2 separate regions of the Homo sapiens genome follow, and region 2 is linked to region 1. The links are contacts of gene promoters, found by promoter capture Hi-C in blood cells and fetal thymus (Javierre and others, 2016). All regions are on one chromosome and are shown on one strand. Each heading gives the region's core, a stretch centred on a gene start or on the middle of the fragment in contact. The rest is flanking DNA. Distances are from core to core; before and after follow the strand shown.

What was found. The method cuts DNA at HindIII sites, captures the fragments that hold promoters and counts their contacts. A CHiCAGO score of 5 or more calls a contact.
Region 2: a fragment that was not itself captured here is called in contact with the fragment with the promoter of TELO2 in region 1 in 1 of 17 cell types (endothelial precursors); the score reaches 5.5 in endothelial precursors.

The regions. Positions count from the first base shown.
Region 1 is chr16:1,489,191-1,496,881 of GRCh38, reverse strand. TELO2 (telomere maintenance 2) reads right to left here and starts at 3,522. Exons shown (of 21, transcript NM_016111.4): 1 at 3,277-3,522; 2 at 2,266-2,636; 3 at 1,259-1,536. The coding sequence starts at 2,600. RefSeq lists enhancers at 115-1,014, 1,015-1,915, 2,817-3,717, 3,815-3,864 and silencers at 3,085-3,284, 3,295-3,344, 3,515-3,604. The HindIII fragment of the contact is 10,177 bases long and covers 1-7,691 here.
Region 2 is chr16:1,697,164-1,704,854 of GRCh38, reverse strand. It overlaps JPT2 (Jupiter microtubule associated homolog 2), which reads right to left. Exons shown (of 5, transcript NM_144570.3): 4 at 6,995-7,043; 5 at 2,769-6,044. The coding sequence ends at 5,857. Among named protein-coding and RNA genes, the nearest start is that of MAPK8IP3, 5.2 kb to the left of the region's middle. RefSeq lists a silencer at 1-107. The HindIII fragment of the contact is 341 bases long and covers 1,323-1,663 here.

The DNA.
Region 1 (7,691 bases), core at 2,273-4,772:
CTGAACAGGAGTGCGTGGAACCTGACAAGCAAATCACAATCCTTTCAAACCTTCACCCATCTTAGCCCACTTAATCGTCACGATGGTGTAGGAGGTCGGGACCGGTATGATGTTGCCGAGGAAGGAGAGAAAGCATCGATAGGGCCCGGCCAAGTTGGGTCAGCCACGCAGGGTAGGCCTGGGCCCTGAGCCGGGCATGAGACCCTGGAGCAGCACCACCACCACGGCCGCCCACAGGGAAGGAGCGCACTCCAGGGAACGTGGGGAACCGGGAGGGGCCGGGCTGTACCAGCCCCACAGAAGAGCTGGGACGCGGGGCAGCGGAAAGCACAGAGCCGCGTGGGGACCAGGACGGCCCCAGCCAACCCCGAACACGTGAAAAAGCCGCATTCCACATGTGTCCGAGATGTTCCCAAAGCCTCCTTAATACATGGGCCCATGCACAGCAGCAGCTGCAAGCCTAGGGCTACGTTCGGAAAAGACAGGAGGGGCTCAGGAGGTTGCTGCAGGAACCCCCAGGTGAGGCGAGGGGGCTTGGGCCACACAGGCCCCACGCAGGGACTCGAGGGGCCCGGCTTCCTCCTGGGCTCTGAGGGGGCGCCGAGCTGCTCCAGGACCCCAGGGTGCCCCTGAGCGAGGGAGGGAGTTTCAGAACGAGGTCGGGGCAGCATGTGGAGGGTGGAGTCCGGACCCAGGTGCTCGACCTGCGTCTGAGCTGTCGCCTGGAGCTCGGGAAAGGCAAGAGAAGGAAGGGGTCACCCTGCAGGGAGAGGCAGACGCTCCGGGTGCTGTGCAGGCCCCCGGCCCAGCCTCCTTCTCGCTAGTGAAACGCACACTCGCGGCAGCCGCCATCTGGCGCCCCAGGGAAAACAGAGCGAGCATGGGCGCTCACGGGGCCCTGCAGCCCAGCAGCGGGCAAGGCCGTTCCCACAGCACCCCCTCTCCAGGGCACCGCCAGCGTCTGCCTCCAGACCTGAGAACCTCGAGATCCCCCACCTGGCCACCACAGCACAGTTGGGCCCTGGAAACCCAAGGGACTGCAGGGACAAGAGAAGCCCGCGTGGAGGGCAGCGGACTTCAGCCCACAGCGGATGAGCCCTGCCGGTCACTACTGTGCGGGACAGGGACATCCCCACCTGCCTGACGGCATCAACCAGAGACTCCAAAGTCTCCAGAGGCCGTGAGGCACCAGAGGGTGGCAGGGGACGAGGACCCAAGAAGACGGGTGGCAAAGGGGGTCCCCGAGGCAGGGCCTCACCTTGGAGAGAGTCCACAACCGCCTGCAGCACCCGGACGACCTCCTCGCCGAGCAGGCGGAAGTAGTTCTGGGGGAAGAACTCGGCCAAGTTCTCCTGCTGCAGGCGGTTGCCCAGGTGATCGGGCAGGGCCACCACCTTGCCCAGCAGCGTCTCCCGGAGCAGGATGAAGCCGGGCTGCGTCTGCTGCCGACACTGCGCCTCCATCAGCACTGCCAGCCGGCCCTCGCGCAGGAATCTGGCCAGCAGCCGCGCCATCTTCATCAGCCGGAAGCTGGGGCTGAAGATACGGGCGTGTTGGGCAGAGCCGCCAACCCCCATCCTCGGGGCCCCCTTCCTGCCACAAGGAACCAGCAGCCCGGATTACACGGGCAGCCCCAACAACATAACCAGCGTGAAGTCCAAAACCACAAGCCGGATGGGAAAATCTGTTAATCCATTCCTAAATAACTGCGATTACTGTGTGAGAGCTCTCGGGGCCCTGAGCGGCTTCCCCAACCTGGAGTCTCACTGGACACCCCTCCCCTGCTGCTGACGCGGATAACTCAGTGCTTGCTTTGATCACAGCAACCTCTGAAAACCCAGCTTCTCAAGATGCAGTGTCCCGGCAAGGACTGCAGTGTGATCTGAGGCTGAGCCTGGGAGCCGGCTGGGGCTGGGAGTCCACATGGGACACGTGTCAGTGATGACAGCTGTGCTTCCCTGGAAAACCTGGAACGTCCCCAGCTGACGGGCTGCCTCTGCCGCCTGGGATGTGAACACTCCCACCCCATCCCTCTCTGACACAGCCGGACGGGGAGCAAGTGGGGGACTTTGTGAGACACAGCAGGTGCCTCCCGTCGCAAAGGAGACAGACACAGACCGCTTCTTCTGTTCAGGGGTTCAGCCAGGAGCAGGCTCTCTCTCTAGCCCCTCACAGGGACTAGAGAGGCTCTTGGTCCAGTCCTTCAAGCCACTCTCATCACTTCTGAGGCTACCGGCAACCCCAGGATGGGCCCAGCCCACTCACCCCGCAGCACCCTCGATGGTCTCCATCAACACCAGGAAGGCTTGGTCCGCCGGGCCCTCCAGGAAGAAGCTGGCCCACAGCTCCTCCAGGCGGCCATGGGGCAGCAGCTCCAGCCAGGCTGGGCTCAGCCTGCTGGCAAGACATCTGAGGACAGGCGAGAAGTGGGCCGAGGCAAACTCCTCCTTCTCCCTCGGGAGCGCTGGAGGCTCCATCTCACCGAGATACCGCTTCAGGGACTCCAGGGTGCAGAAGATGTGGCCGCCATCCTCCGAAGACGAGAGGGCATGAATGGCTTCCCGGACGGCGAGTCGAACCTCTGAGGGTGCTGGCTCCATCCTGCAGGACAGATCTGGGCGTCACGGGAAGACGACCTGTGACATGGACACAGGGCTCAGCTTGGGGCACGGAAATAATCCACACAAGCTCAGGAAGCCCCTCGGTGAGCGCCCCGAGACCCCACACCCCTCAACCCTGGTCCCACCCAACCCTGTCCCGCCTCCTTCCCCTCCAGTGCCTGCCGGTTTCCACCCAGAGTTCGCTCCTCCGCTCGGACCCCAACGCTACCAGCCACTGCAGGGCTTCTCAACCCGGGCCACTGTGCCCAGGGAACATTCTCAGTTGTCTCAACCGGGAGTGCCACTGGCGCGAGAGGGAGGTGGAGGCTAGAGATGCTGGTGAGTGTTCCCCGGGCACAGCGCGGCCCCACGCGTCCTCGCACCCAAGGCGGGAAACTCGGCCCGCGGGAGCTGCCGGCCCTCCCGGCTCCCTGAGCGGTGAGAGGTGGCTCCAGTCGCCATTCCTCCGCCCCTTAGAAACCAACAGCTTACGGGGAACACGGGTTCGGGGCTAGAGGAGCCGCACGCGGACCCGCCCCCGATCCAGGCCCGGACCCCGACCTGTACCCGGACCCCGACCGGACTCCTACCCGACCTGGACCCGACCCAACCAGACCTGGAGCCCAACCCGACCCAACCGGACCCCCGATCCCCGATCCCCGACCCCCAACCCGACCTGGACCCGGCTCCCGGGTGACTGCAGCGCGCTCAGGCGCCGCGCGCCACCGATTCGCTGCAGCCGATTCCCCACGGCCGCCGCGGCCCCGGACGAAACGCGATCGCGGCCCAGCCGGTTGGCCCCGAGCACGAGTTCCTGGGTCCGGGCGAGGCTCCCGCGGGTTTTCTTGAGCCTCTGGGGCGGGTCTCCGCGGGCCTCTCAGCGCGAATCTGCGGAGGACGCCAGGCGGGAGGGCGCATCTGCGCCTGCGCTGCGCGGGGACGGGGCGGAGCCTGGACGCGGGAGCGGGGGGCGGTGGGGTGGGCGGGGCCTGACGCGTGAGTGGGGCGGGGCCTGAGGGCAGGGCCGCGCTTCCCCACGTGGCTGCGAGCTGGGTTCGCTGCGCCCGGGTGGTGGGTTCTCGCCTTAGTTTCTCCCATCTCGGTCGTCCCTACCCTGGAGTGATGTCAGCCGTCTCTTCCCTCCGCCTCGGGTCCCACATTCTCTCCAGAACGCCGAGCGTTCGCTCTAAGGCAGATGTTTACCAAGACAGGCCTGGCTCGTCTTCCCCGGATGTAAGGCTCTGCTTTCAAGGGTCAGAGGCCAGTAAGGGAAACGCACGGTACACAAGGAAGTAAAAGAGCAGTTGAGATCATGTCAGATCTGAACAATTGCAGCTCCGTAAATGAGGCCGGGTCGTGGAATAAAAACTGCGACCAGTAGGGTAAGCGCTAGACGCATGTGGCTCTGTAAATTAACTGAAGTTAAATAAGTCCAGTTCCCTTGCAGCACTAGCCCCATCTCAAGGGCTCGGTACTACCTTTGGCTGTGGCCGCCAGGCTGGACAGCCGGACACTGAACATTTACAACATGCAGTGCCTTCTGTACACCGCAGCGGAGTGTGGGGGGCTTCATCTTTGTGGAGGGGGCAATCCAGGAAGACACCTAAAGAGGCGCCATTTCAGCAGTGATGGATGTGGGAAAAGCTGGGGAACAGTTATCCATTCAACAAACATTGATTAAATGCCTGCTTGGTGCACCAAGCCTTCTGAGCAACAAATGATGCAAAGTTCCTGCTCACCTATCGGGGGAACAGATAAAGTACATACGAAATATGCCAGGTGACAGGCCTCGAGCAGAAAAACTGGCAGAGGCCGGGCCCGGTGGCTCACGCCGGTAATTCCAGCACTGGGAAGCTGAGGTGGGAGAATCGTTTGCACCCAGAAGTTCAAGAATGGGAAAAATAGTGAGACCCTGTCTCTACAAAAAATTTAAAAATTAGCCAGGCACGGTGTCATGAGCCTGTGATCCCAGCTACTCAGGAGGCTGAGGTGGGAGGATGGCTTGAGCCCGGGAGGTTGAGGCTGCAGTGAGCCATGTTCACTGCCACTGCACTCCAGCCTGGACAACAGAGCAAGACCCTGTTTCAAAAAAAAAAAAGGAATCAAAATAAAAAACCGGTAGGGTAAGAAAATAAGAGCCAGTGGCCGGGCACAGTGGTTCACACCTCTAATCCCAGCACTTAGGGAGGCCGAGACGGGTGGGTCACAAGCTCAGGAGTTCGAGACCAGCCTGGCCAACATGGTGAAACCCCGTCTCTCCTAAAAAAAGAATAATAATAATAATAATAGTAATACAAAAATTAGTTGGGCGTGGTGGCATGTGTCTGTGATCCCAGCTACTTGGGAGGCTGAGGCAGGAGAATTGCTTGAACCCAGGAGGCAGAGGTTGCAATGAGTGGAGATTGTGCCATTGAACTCCAGCCTGGGTGACAGAGCGAGACTCCTCCAAAAAAAAAAAAAAAGAAAAGAGCCAGAGAGCAGTGGGTGCTGTCTTACGTAAGGTGAGAGCTCTGAACAGAACACCTTAGAGCAGAGCCCTGAATGTGTTGACAGCCAGGGAAGAGTCTCACTGGCAGGAAAACGGCAGGTGCAAAGGCCTGAGGCCGCAACTGTTGCCCGGGAGGTGGAGCCGAGGGAGGCATATGCAGGGGTGAGGCCTGGAGGGAGTGAGGCAGTGGGCCAGGCCACAGAAGGCCCTCGCAGGGACTAAGATTTTGCTTGTGTGGCAGGCATCTCCTGGAGCCATTGAAGGCACGGGTCCATGCTGGTGCAGTTAGGAGAGCAGACGGTAGGGGGGCGACACGGACGAGGGGACTAGGTGGCCATTGTGAGGATGAGCTTGGGGCGGAATGGGGGTGTAGAGAAGCAGCTGAACTCAGGGCATGTCTCTGCAGGCAGAGCTGATGGATGGGATATGGGGCAGGCAGCATCCCATCATCCCGGAAACTCCTCCTCCGTCCGCTGCTGGGTTCCAGCCCTCGCCAGTGCCCACGGCAGCTCCGTCCTTCCCTATTCCCTTCTTTTCCTGAAGCCCCGCATCCAACAGTGGGTGCTTGGAGGACAAATTTCTCAAGCCTTTGTGTGTCTGAAAATGTCTTTATTCTTTGCTCTGTCACCCAGGCTGGAGTGTAGTGGCGCGATTTCAGCTCACTGCAACCTCCTTCTCCCCGGCTCAGGCGATCCTCCCGCCTTAGCCTTCCAAGTAGCTGGGACTGCAGGTGCACACCACCACGTCTGGCTGATTTTTGTAATTTTAGTAGAGACGGGGTTTTGCCATGTTGCCCAGCCTGGTCTCGATCTCCTGGACTCAAGTGATCTGCCCACCTTGACCTCACAAAGTGCTGGGATTACAGGAGAGAGCCACCACACCCTGCCCCGACCCACAACTTTAAATGGAAATCAGGCAGGCTCAGTGGCTCACGCCAGTAAACCCAGCACTTTGGCTAGGCTGAGCTGGGAGGATTGCTTGAGCCCAGGAGTGTTTGAGAACAGCCTGGCAACATAGCAAGACCCTTCTCTACCGAAATAAAATAAATACATAAATAAATGGAACTCACTGTCAGTTGGAAGCTGCGAGATCCGCCGCTCTGTGTGTGGCACCAGCGTCGCTGTCCTGGTGGCTGCCAGTCCCCCGGGGCCTAAGGCCCCAACCCCGTCCATGTGCCCAGGATGTTCTCTCCGATGCTTTCTGCATCTTCTCCATGTCCATGGTGTTCTGACGCTTGACAAGGGGAGCCTGGGGGCCACCGATGGTTTCCTGGCCTGGCACCCTCTTGGCTCATGCCACCTTGGGAATGATGGATGCCCCCAGTGGGACAACTTTGTGGATGATCTTATTCCCATGAGCTGGGCGGCTTGAAACAACAGAAATGAGTCCTATCACAGTTCTGGGGGCTGGAAGTCTTGAAGTGAAGGTGCACACTCCCTCGAAGGCTCTGGGCTGGGGGTTCCCACTTTACCTCTTCCAGCTTCTGGGGCCTCTGGGGGTTCCTCGTGGCAGCGTCACCCCAGTCTCTGCCCCATCTTCACAGGCCGTGTCCTCTGTGCCTCCTCCTCTGTCTCTTGTACCCCTGTCATTGGCTTTAGGGCCACCTGGATAATCCAGGATGGTCTCATCTCAAAATCCTTCATGACATCCGCAGAGACCTTTTCCACATAAGGCCCTGCCTGGGGCTTATGTGTGTTTTTAGGAGGGTCTCATTCAAGCCAGTACACAACCTGTAACCAAAAATACCAGCCTGGCCCACATGGGGCAACCCCGTCTCTACTACAAATACAAAAATTGGCCGGGCGCGGTGGCTCATGCCTGTAATCCCAGCATTTCGGGAGGCTACAGCGGGTGGATCACCTGAGGTCGGGAGTTTGAGACCAGCCTGGCCCACATGGTGAAACCCCGTCTCTACTAAAAATACAAAAATTAGCCGGATGTGGGGGCACATACCTGTAATCCCAGCTACTTGGGAGGCTGAGACAGGAGAATCCGTTAAACCCAGGAGGCGGAGCTTGTGGTGAGCGGAGATCGCACCACTGCACTCCAGCCTGGGTGACAGAGCAAGACTCCGTCAAAAAAATTAATTAATTGGCCAGGCGCAGTGGCTCATGCCTGTAATCCGAACACTTAGGGAGGCTGAGGCAGGCAAATCATGAGGTCAGAAGTTTGAGACCAGCCTGACCAACATAGTGAAACCCCATCTCTACTAAAAATACTAAAATTAGCCGGGCATGGTAAAGCACGCCTGTAATCCCAGCTCCTCAGGAGGCAGGAGGCTGAGGAAGGAGAATCGCTTGAGCCGGGGAGGCAGAGGTTGCAGTGAGCTGAGATTGCGCCATTGCACTCTAGCCTAGGCAACAGAACGAGACTCCATCTCAAATAATAATAATAATTAATTAATTAAGGTGGCTCCCAGTCACATTTCCATTGCTTTACTGAGAGAGACGGGGCCTCCCAGGATGCAGCCGTGCACGGCCTGGGTGATGGGTGCCTGTGCAGACCTGGCTCTGTTGACTCCCCAGCCCCCGTCGGGTTCCCTGTCTTGCTTCGACTTCTCGGGAGCACAAGTCCATGTGCTCCTGTTAAAGCCATCGCCTCCT
Region 2 (7,691 bases), core at 244-2,743, 210 kb before region 1:
TTGACTCTTGGCCCAGGGTCCCCTTTCCCCCATTCTGAGCCAGTGTCCCCAGGACTTTTGTCTCTGGAAGTACTTGAGGCCTGAACTTAAAATGTGTTGCTCCGTAAGATTTGCACTTTATTTTGCTGGGCAGGGGACACCATGAACCCAAGACTTTGAAACTCAATTTGGGAGCCACACATGTATTGTGAATCCTGATGAAACCACATCAGTGACTATTTAATGCTAATAGAAATGGCCACTTACCGTCTTTCACCTACTGCAATGCTCATCAGTTCAGATCCTCTCATCCTAATCTGATTGCACCGAAACAGTAACTCCCGTAGCTGACACCCTACTGATTTTTTTTGTTGTTCAGTTTTTAGAGGCAGGGTCTCACCCTGTTGCTCAGGCTGGAGGCACTGGCATGATCAGGGCTCACTTGAACTCTTAGGCTCAAGTGATCCCACCTCAGCCTCCTAAGTAGTTGGGTCTACAGGTGTAAGCCACCACTGCTTGGCCAATTTTAAAAACATTTTTGTAGAGACAGAGGTCTCACTGTTACTCTGGCTGGTCTTGAACTCCTGGCCTCAAGCGATCCTCCCCCTTGGCCTCCCAAAGTGCTTAGATGACAGGTGTGAGCCACCATGCCAGGCTCTATTGTGTTTTTCACATTTTCCACTTGCAACATAATTTGCCGTATACATGTTCAACCATCCCACTAAGAGGTTTCATTCAGCCTCAGATTCCAATTTCCTGGGATCCCAAGTGACTTAATTTTGCCAAATCTCCATTTCTTTTCTTTTCTTTTTTTTTTTTTCCTGAGATGGAGTCTCAGTCTGTGGCCCAGGCTGGAGTGCAGTGGCACCATCTCAGCTCACTGTTACTTCCGCCCCCCGTGTTCAAGCCATTCTCCTGCCTCAGCCTCCCGAGTAGCTGGGACTACAGGCATGTGCTACCACGCCTGGCTAATTTTTGTAATTTTTAGTAGAGATGGGGGTTTCACCATACTGGTCAGGCCGGTCTCAAACTCCTGACCTCAGGTGATCCACCCACCTCAGCCTCCCAGTGTTGGGATTACAGGCATGAGCCACCGTGCCTGGCCCCAAATCTCTGTTTCTAAGCCTGCAAAACAGCCTAAAATATCCAGCCTATTAGGAATGTCAGCTAATCCATGAAAGGAGCATGGCGCCATCTCCAGCAAATAACGTGCGATAAAGGTTACGGAGAGTTGTGAGGTTCCATAAAGTGAAAATGATAAGGCTGGGCAAACAGATGTAATCTATAATTCTTCCTGGTGAACAAGTTAGAGCAAGCTTGCATTTTGGGGGATGTTTAAAGCTTCTGCTTTATACCTTTGAGAAACTTGAGCCCTTTGAATTCCTGAGGTAGCACACTACAGTAGGAACAATGCTACCACAGGGAGAGGCCAACAGACTTGGCCATCAACTCAATTGATTAATTATCACTACCATGATTGCACAGATTTGTTACTTTAAGTTGGTTAAAATGAAATTTTAACAAGGTGCTGGATAATTCTTGACACTTATGGAATCATACAACTGGTCTTCTCCTGAAAGTTGGTGCTGAATTAGAACTGCTTACAGCTGGGCATAGTGGCTTACACCAGTAATCCCAGCACTTTGGGAGGCCAAGGAGGGAGGATCGCTTGAATCCAGAAGCTTGAGACCAGCCCGGGCAACATAGTGAAACCCAGACTCTACCAAAAAAAAAAAAAAATCAGCCAGGCGTGGTGGTGCATGCCTGCAGTCCCAGCTACTTGGGAGGCTGAGGTGGGAGGATCACTTGAGCCTGGGAGGTTGAGGCTGCAGTGAGCAGATTGTGCCACTGCACTCCAGCCTGGGTGACAGAATGGCTCTGTCTAAAAAAAAAGAAGAACGAACTTCTAGTAACAGAGGAGTTGACTTCCTTTCAGATTCAGAAATACTATTTGGGATGCAACTTTTTCTCACTAAAATACCTTAAAATGTAAGATGGGCATTAAAATATAAAATGTAAGTTTCTAAAATTCAACTTTAATTTCTAAGTATCTGCCCTGATGCCTGCTAAGAAGCCACACAGTTCCCTGTGATGTTCCTCTCATCTTCATGAGCTGAGTTTGAGAGAGCATCTTTAGATAGCACTTTGTAGCCACACATTACACAGGAGTATTTCAGTGATGATCTTCAAGATGGTCAGGATTATGAGTGCAGAAGAAATTAAGCAGCCAGCACGGGAGGAGGCATCTACACACTCACAGGGTGTGACCTACCAGGTACACCACAAAGATCATATGGCAAAGTTACCTGACATCAAAAGAGCCTGTGTATTCCTGGACAAGGCACGGGGCTCGAGGTGGCAACCCTTCGGGGTCTGTTATTCACACCCTCACCCTGTACCAGGTGGCACCCGCGTCCTTCTAGACTTGGCCACTGCCAGGCCTCTGGAGACGGAGGAGCTGTGACTCCCAGAGGTTCCCATGCTTGCTGGTGGCCTTGGCAGCTGCTAGAAATAGGAAACTTAGCGTGTCATTTCCTAGCCTGGTTCTTGGAACTCGCTCTATACCCTGTGGATGAACAAGTGAAGACGGTGTTTCAGTTAATGCATGTTGGTTTTCTTTCTCAAGCGTTGACTTTCATCTCATCTGGCCCCGATCTAGCAGGCAGAATGGTGTGGAGCCTCCTAGAGAGGAACTCTCAGGCTCACAGTCTGAGAAGTTTACCCTGAATCCACATAATGCCTGTAAGGATATTAAGTATGTTAGAAAACATATGAAAATAGCTAATACATCAGAAGAAAGACATCCAATCTGTTTTTTATTTTATTTTTTTACACAGGGTCTTGCTCTGTGGTCCAGGCTGAAGTGCAGTGGCATGATCATCACTCACTACAGCCACAACCTCCTGGTCTCAAGTGATCCTCCTGCCTCACTCAGCCTCCCGAGTAGCTGGGACTACAGGCATGCACCACCACATCCGGCTAATTTAGAGAAGTTTTTTTTTGTATAGACAGGGTCGTAGTATGTTGTCTAGGCTGGTCTCAAACTCCTGAGCTCAAGTGATCCTCCCACCCTGGCCTCCCAAAGACCCAAAGACTACAGACCTGAGCCACCATGCCCACCTGTTTTCTTGACAGGACTTGCATATGACAAGCTCTCTGCTTCTCCTCACCTATGCATTGCAAGCCAGGTCAGAGGCAGGTTAAACACCTTAAGGACATGTTAGGACAAGTGGCATACAAGGGAAAAAAACCCGTTCATTTAAGTTACAGAAACAGAAAAAAAAAAACTGGCTTATTCCCACACTTACTCTACTCAAAGCTTTGAGAAGACTAATTTTGGCATCCTCTGGCTAAATACAAAACAACAAAACAAAACAAGGCAAACTCTTTCAGCAAGAGCTGTGGGGGAAGGGACTATAAGGGACACACACAACTGACAGGCAAAAGCTCTGAGCACGTGATTGCTAAGTTTAATTCAACTGTTACACCCCATTCTGCCTTGTAAAAATAACAAAACGCTCCTATCAAAATGACATTGTGATGTGAGTACAGGCTTTTTGTTTTGGTACAGCTCTAAAAAATGTTGGCACCGAATGCACTTAAGAAAAGTGTTAAGGCTTAATACAAATACAGAGACGAGTCATTTCTCAATGCAGCTTAGAGGGTGAGAACAGGATGCTAGGTTTTTAAATCTTCCAAATACAGGCAGTCCCCAACGTACAGACATACAGGACACCTCCCAAATGTAAACGACAGCCACACAGCAGGGCTTGCATGCGCAGGAACTCTTCTTCTCCCAGTGAGCAGACTAAGCACTCTGAATCCCACCCCACTGCCTCGCAGAGGGAAAGAAGGCAGGACAGATGCAAGAAGAGTAATGTCAGGGGCTCCATCACAGCTGCCCAGGGGCTTCTGCTGTAGTTCATATTTTCCTCATTCCCATCTCTGGTTTCTCCCATAACCCAGAAGTCCCTGCCAGGGGCGGAAGTAAAGAGCTTTTCCTCTCACCTAGCGGACTGCAAGGGCTGGGAGAATCACAGGGCCCAGTACCGTCACGTCCTATTTCTTCCTGGCAATCTGATTTGGAATTCGTGAATCATTTTCTCAATAAAAAAACAGAAGTTATAAATGGTAGTTCATTTCCACCATTAAACTGTTTCCTTTCAAGTTGCATCAATGACTTTGAAGCACAAACCACCTGAAGTGTGTGTAGAGTCACACAGAGTGTTTCTTGGCTCCAAAGTCTACAGGCAATCAAAAGGGGGAAGCTGTCTTTGGTTGACAAAGCCTTGTGCAGACCCCAGTGTGCCAGGTGTAGGAAGGGGAGCTTGGCAGGCGGCTCCTGCAGGCACTTAAGCAGTGAGGCAGCATGAGCCTGACTGAACATGGCTGCTGCTTTTCTGAAGTTTAATAATGATGATGTTTCTAGCACCAAGCATTAGCTTTGTAGGCACTCAGAGCAAAGCTGCTGCCGCCACCCAGACGTTCTCCTCTGTTAACAGATGCCCACCCAAGGGCAGCATGAGAACTGGGCCTGCAGCCCTTGAGGGGGATGGGCAGAGGCTTCTGCCTGAAGATGAAAGCACCACCACCTTTGCCATCCCATTAGCTGAGTGAGCAAAGCTCAGGGAATTGGACAGGTGTGACTTTGCTACTGAACTCCTTCATCTCCTGGCCTAAGGTCTCTAGTCTCTTCTGGAAGCTTGTTTGTGAGTTAGATCCAGAAGTTCTATAAAGCTTTGTAGAGGGTGGCCTCCACAGCTCTTCTTCCTCTTTGGTGTACCTGAACAATTGACTTTTTTCTGGAAAGGTGTCAGAAACAGACCAGAGTCAACAATCATTTATGTAAAGCTGGTATTTAAAATTTAGCTTTTTAGATATTATTAAAGAATCCAAACCTAAGAACCCAAGGTTCCCAAGCATCTCTTCTTTCCACCAACCAATTAAGGAATAAAGAAAGACACAGGAAGAATTTAAACAAGCCACTTACTCGGAAATATCTGAATAGATTTTTAAAGTCCCGCAGAGGTCAGCGGGCCTCATTTATGGGAAGAACTGTGACTTGTGAAGGGAACTGTCTACATCACTGGAGAACAACAAACGCCTAAACTTAAGGCTGATGAGAGGAAAAAAGCAAGAATTCACAAGCAAAACTGGCATGTAAAGGACCAAGACCAGCCCTGTGTGAAAGACAGGCAGATTCCAACATGAGATCAGATCAGGCCGAGGTTTCAGATGGCAGGAACTGGGCACTTCAGAGGGTCAGGGCACCAAAACAATCTTCCATGAAGTAGAAGACGGATAACTATTATTATTTGGTTTTTTGAAAGCTGCCGAGGAAAAGCAATCAAGATGTTTCAAGAAAAGACTACAGAACAATATGCTGGGGGTAAAATGAAGTGGGGATGCTGGATTTAGCAGCCGTGATCTCCAGAATGGAAGCGGTTCTGCTAAGAGGTCAATATACTGTTAGTGTTTCTGCTTACGCCTCCTCCATCCCACAGCAGCAGTGGACAGGCTGTTTTGGTTTCTTTCAGTCATTCCTAGACATCCAATCAGCTGGCGGGCTGTTGATCCAAGGACCATGCCCTGCCCCACCTCCCCACCCTCACCCCCCTTCCAGTTCCTCTCAAACCTGGACTACACATGAGTGATGGCCAGGGGTGCCCCATTTCATCCCCACAGAGGCATCTCCCAGCCATCTGGAAGGCACGGGTCTCCAAGCAGCTGTCATGACGGCCAGGAGACGCTGAGCAGCCAGGCTCACATAAGACTAACCCTCTTCCCACCCCGCTCATTTGGGCAAAAGGAAATGAAAACATGGCTACCCTATCTCTTGAGTTTCTGGTCTGGCTCCGGGTGGAGCAGTGGCTTCTCTTAGTAGAAGGAGATGCTGGATTTGCCTCCCGGTGGGTTCAGGACCTTGTTGTGAGAGCGAGGCCGCGGCCCCAGCCGGGGCTCATGGCTGTCGACTGTGGGCATGGGCTCCTGCTCCTTGGCGGGGCCTGCTTTTCTGGCGCTGCCTTTCTCACCTGGCTCTGCTCCAGCCGGGATGCTCCTTGCAGCTGTGGGACACAAAGTTAGAACAACATCCCATTAGAGGCAACCCATGACCCTGACAGGCAGGCTGTGGAAATAAAAAGTGTGTCATAGAGCAACCTGCAAGAAATTCATGCTGTAACTGGGAAAGAGAAGACAATATAGACAGGCTTTTCATCTGGTACCAAAACAACTCACTGTAATTAGCAGATGCAGTTTTGAAATGGGCATAAAGTTGGGGCTTGCTACTGTAAATACTCCTTGATTTCTTCCTAAGTGAATTGTTTCTTTATATTGCTTGTTAGACACCACTCCCATTTCTTCCATCTCAAGTATAGAAAGCAAGCCCCTGAGAGTGACCATGAGGCGGCGAGGGAATGCATCCTAGGTGAGGGCTTAGCAAGGCAAAGGCAGGCTCTGTTGCTGTTACCCTGGGCTTTTCAAAGGTGAATGAAATCCCACAAATCTTGGTCATTAGTTAAGGGAAATGGAGACCCAAAGGCAGAAACCGATGCCCATGGTCAGGCTAAAGAGCCGTGGGGAGAGTCGAAGTCTGCCGCTCAACCTGAGCAGTGGCTCACTCCCCCGGGGTGACTCACCATGGAGACACCCGCCTCCCCATCCTCCATCCCTCTCTTGTGCCCCTCTCTTCTCGATTAGTTCTGCCAGCTCTATGCTTGGTCATGAGTTCACTGAAGGTTTGGGATCCCTGCCCATCACTACACAGATGAGCTTCTAGGAGACGACCCCATGGCCCTGGGCCTAGGCTGATGAGCAAGACAACCAAGTCCCAGGGTTTCACCCTAGCCTTCTTCAAATGCTGAATCCTCTTGCAGTGGATACACCTGAGCTCGTTTTAATCAGGTGGCCCAGAAGGTGCAAAGAAAGACTCCTTTTCATTCCCAGAGGAGAGACTAGCAACTCTTCCAGAAATAATGAGGCCACTCAGGAGAAGGGAAAGAAAACAAAAGCTCACCTTTAAGATCCGATTTTGGTTCTTCTCCTTCACATAAGAAAACATGATCCTGCAACAAGGCAAACCACCAAATCAGGACTCACTCAGAAAATTTTACCCTCATTCAAATGGACAATGAAAATCAGGACCATATAACCTTTTAATTTACAAAAATGCTTGTATATCTGACCTCAGGACCCCCCCAATCCTCTACAGACTATTCTGAAACAAACCTGATATTTCATTTATCCATACATATTTCAAGATGTAGCTCTTAAAACATCCTTTAAAAAATAACAGTAGCACCCTCAAAACTGCGAATATTAATGATTCCTTAAATATCAAAGTCAATTTTTTTTTTTTTTTTGGAGACAAGAGTCTTGTTCAGTCATTCAGGCTAGAGTGCGGTGGCATGATCTTGGCTCACTGCAGCCTCTGCCTCCTGGGCTGAAGCGATCCTCACATCTCAGCCTCCCGAGTAGTGGGGACTACAGGCGTGAGCCACCACACCTGGCTAATTTTTCTATTTTTTGTAGAGACAGGGTTTTGCCACGTTGCCCAGCTCATCTCAAACTCCTGGACTCAAGTGATCTGCGTGCCTCAGCCTCCCAAAGTGCTGGGATTATAGGCGTGAGCCACTGTGCCCAGCCTCAAAGTCAAATTTTTAAATACTGGCATAATATTTCATCCATGCTGTAATATTTCATCCATAATAATT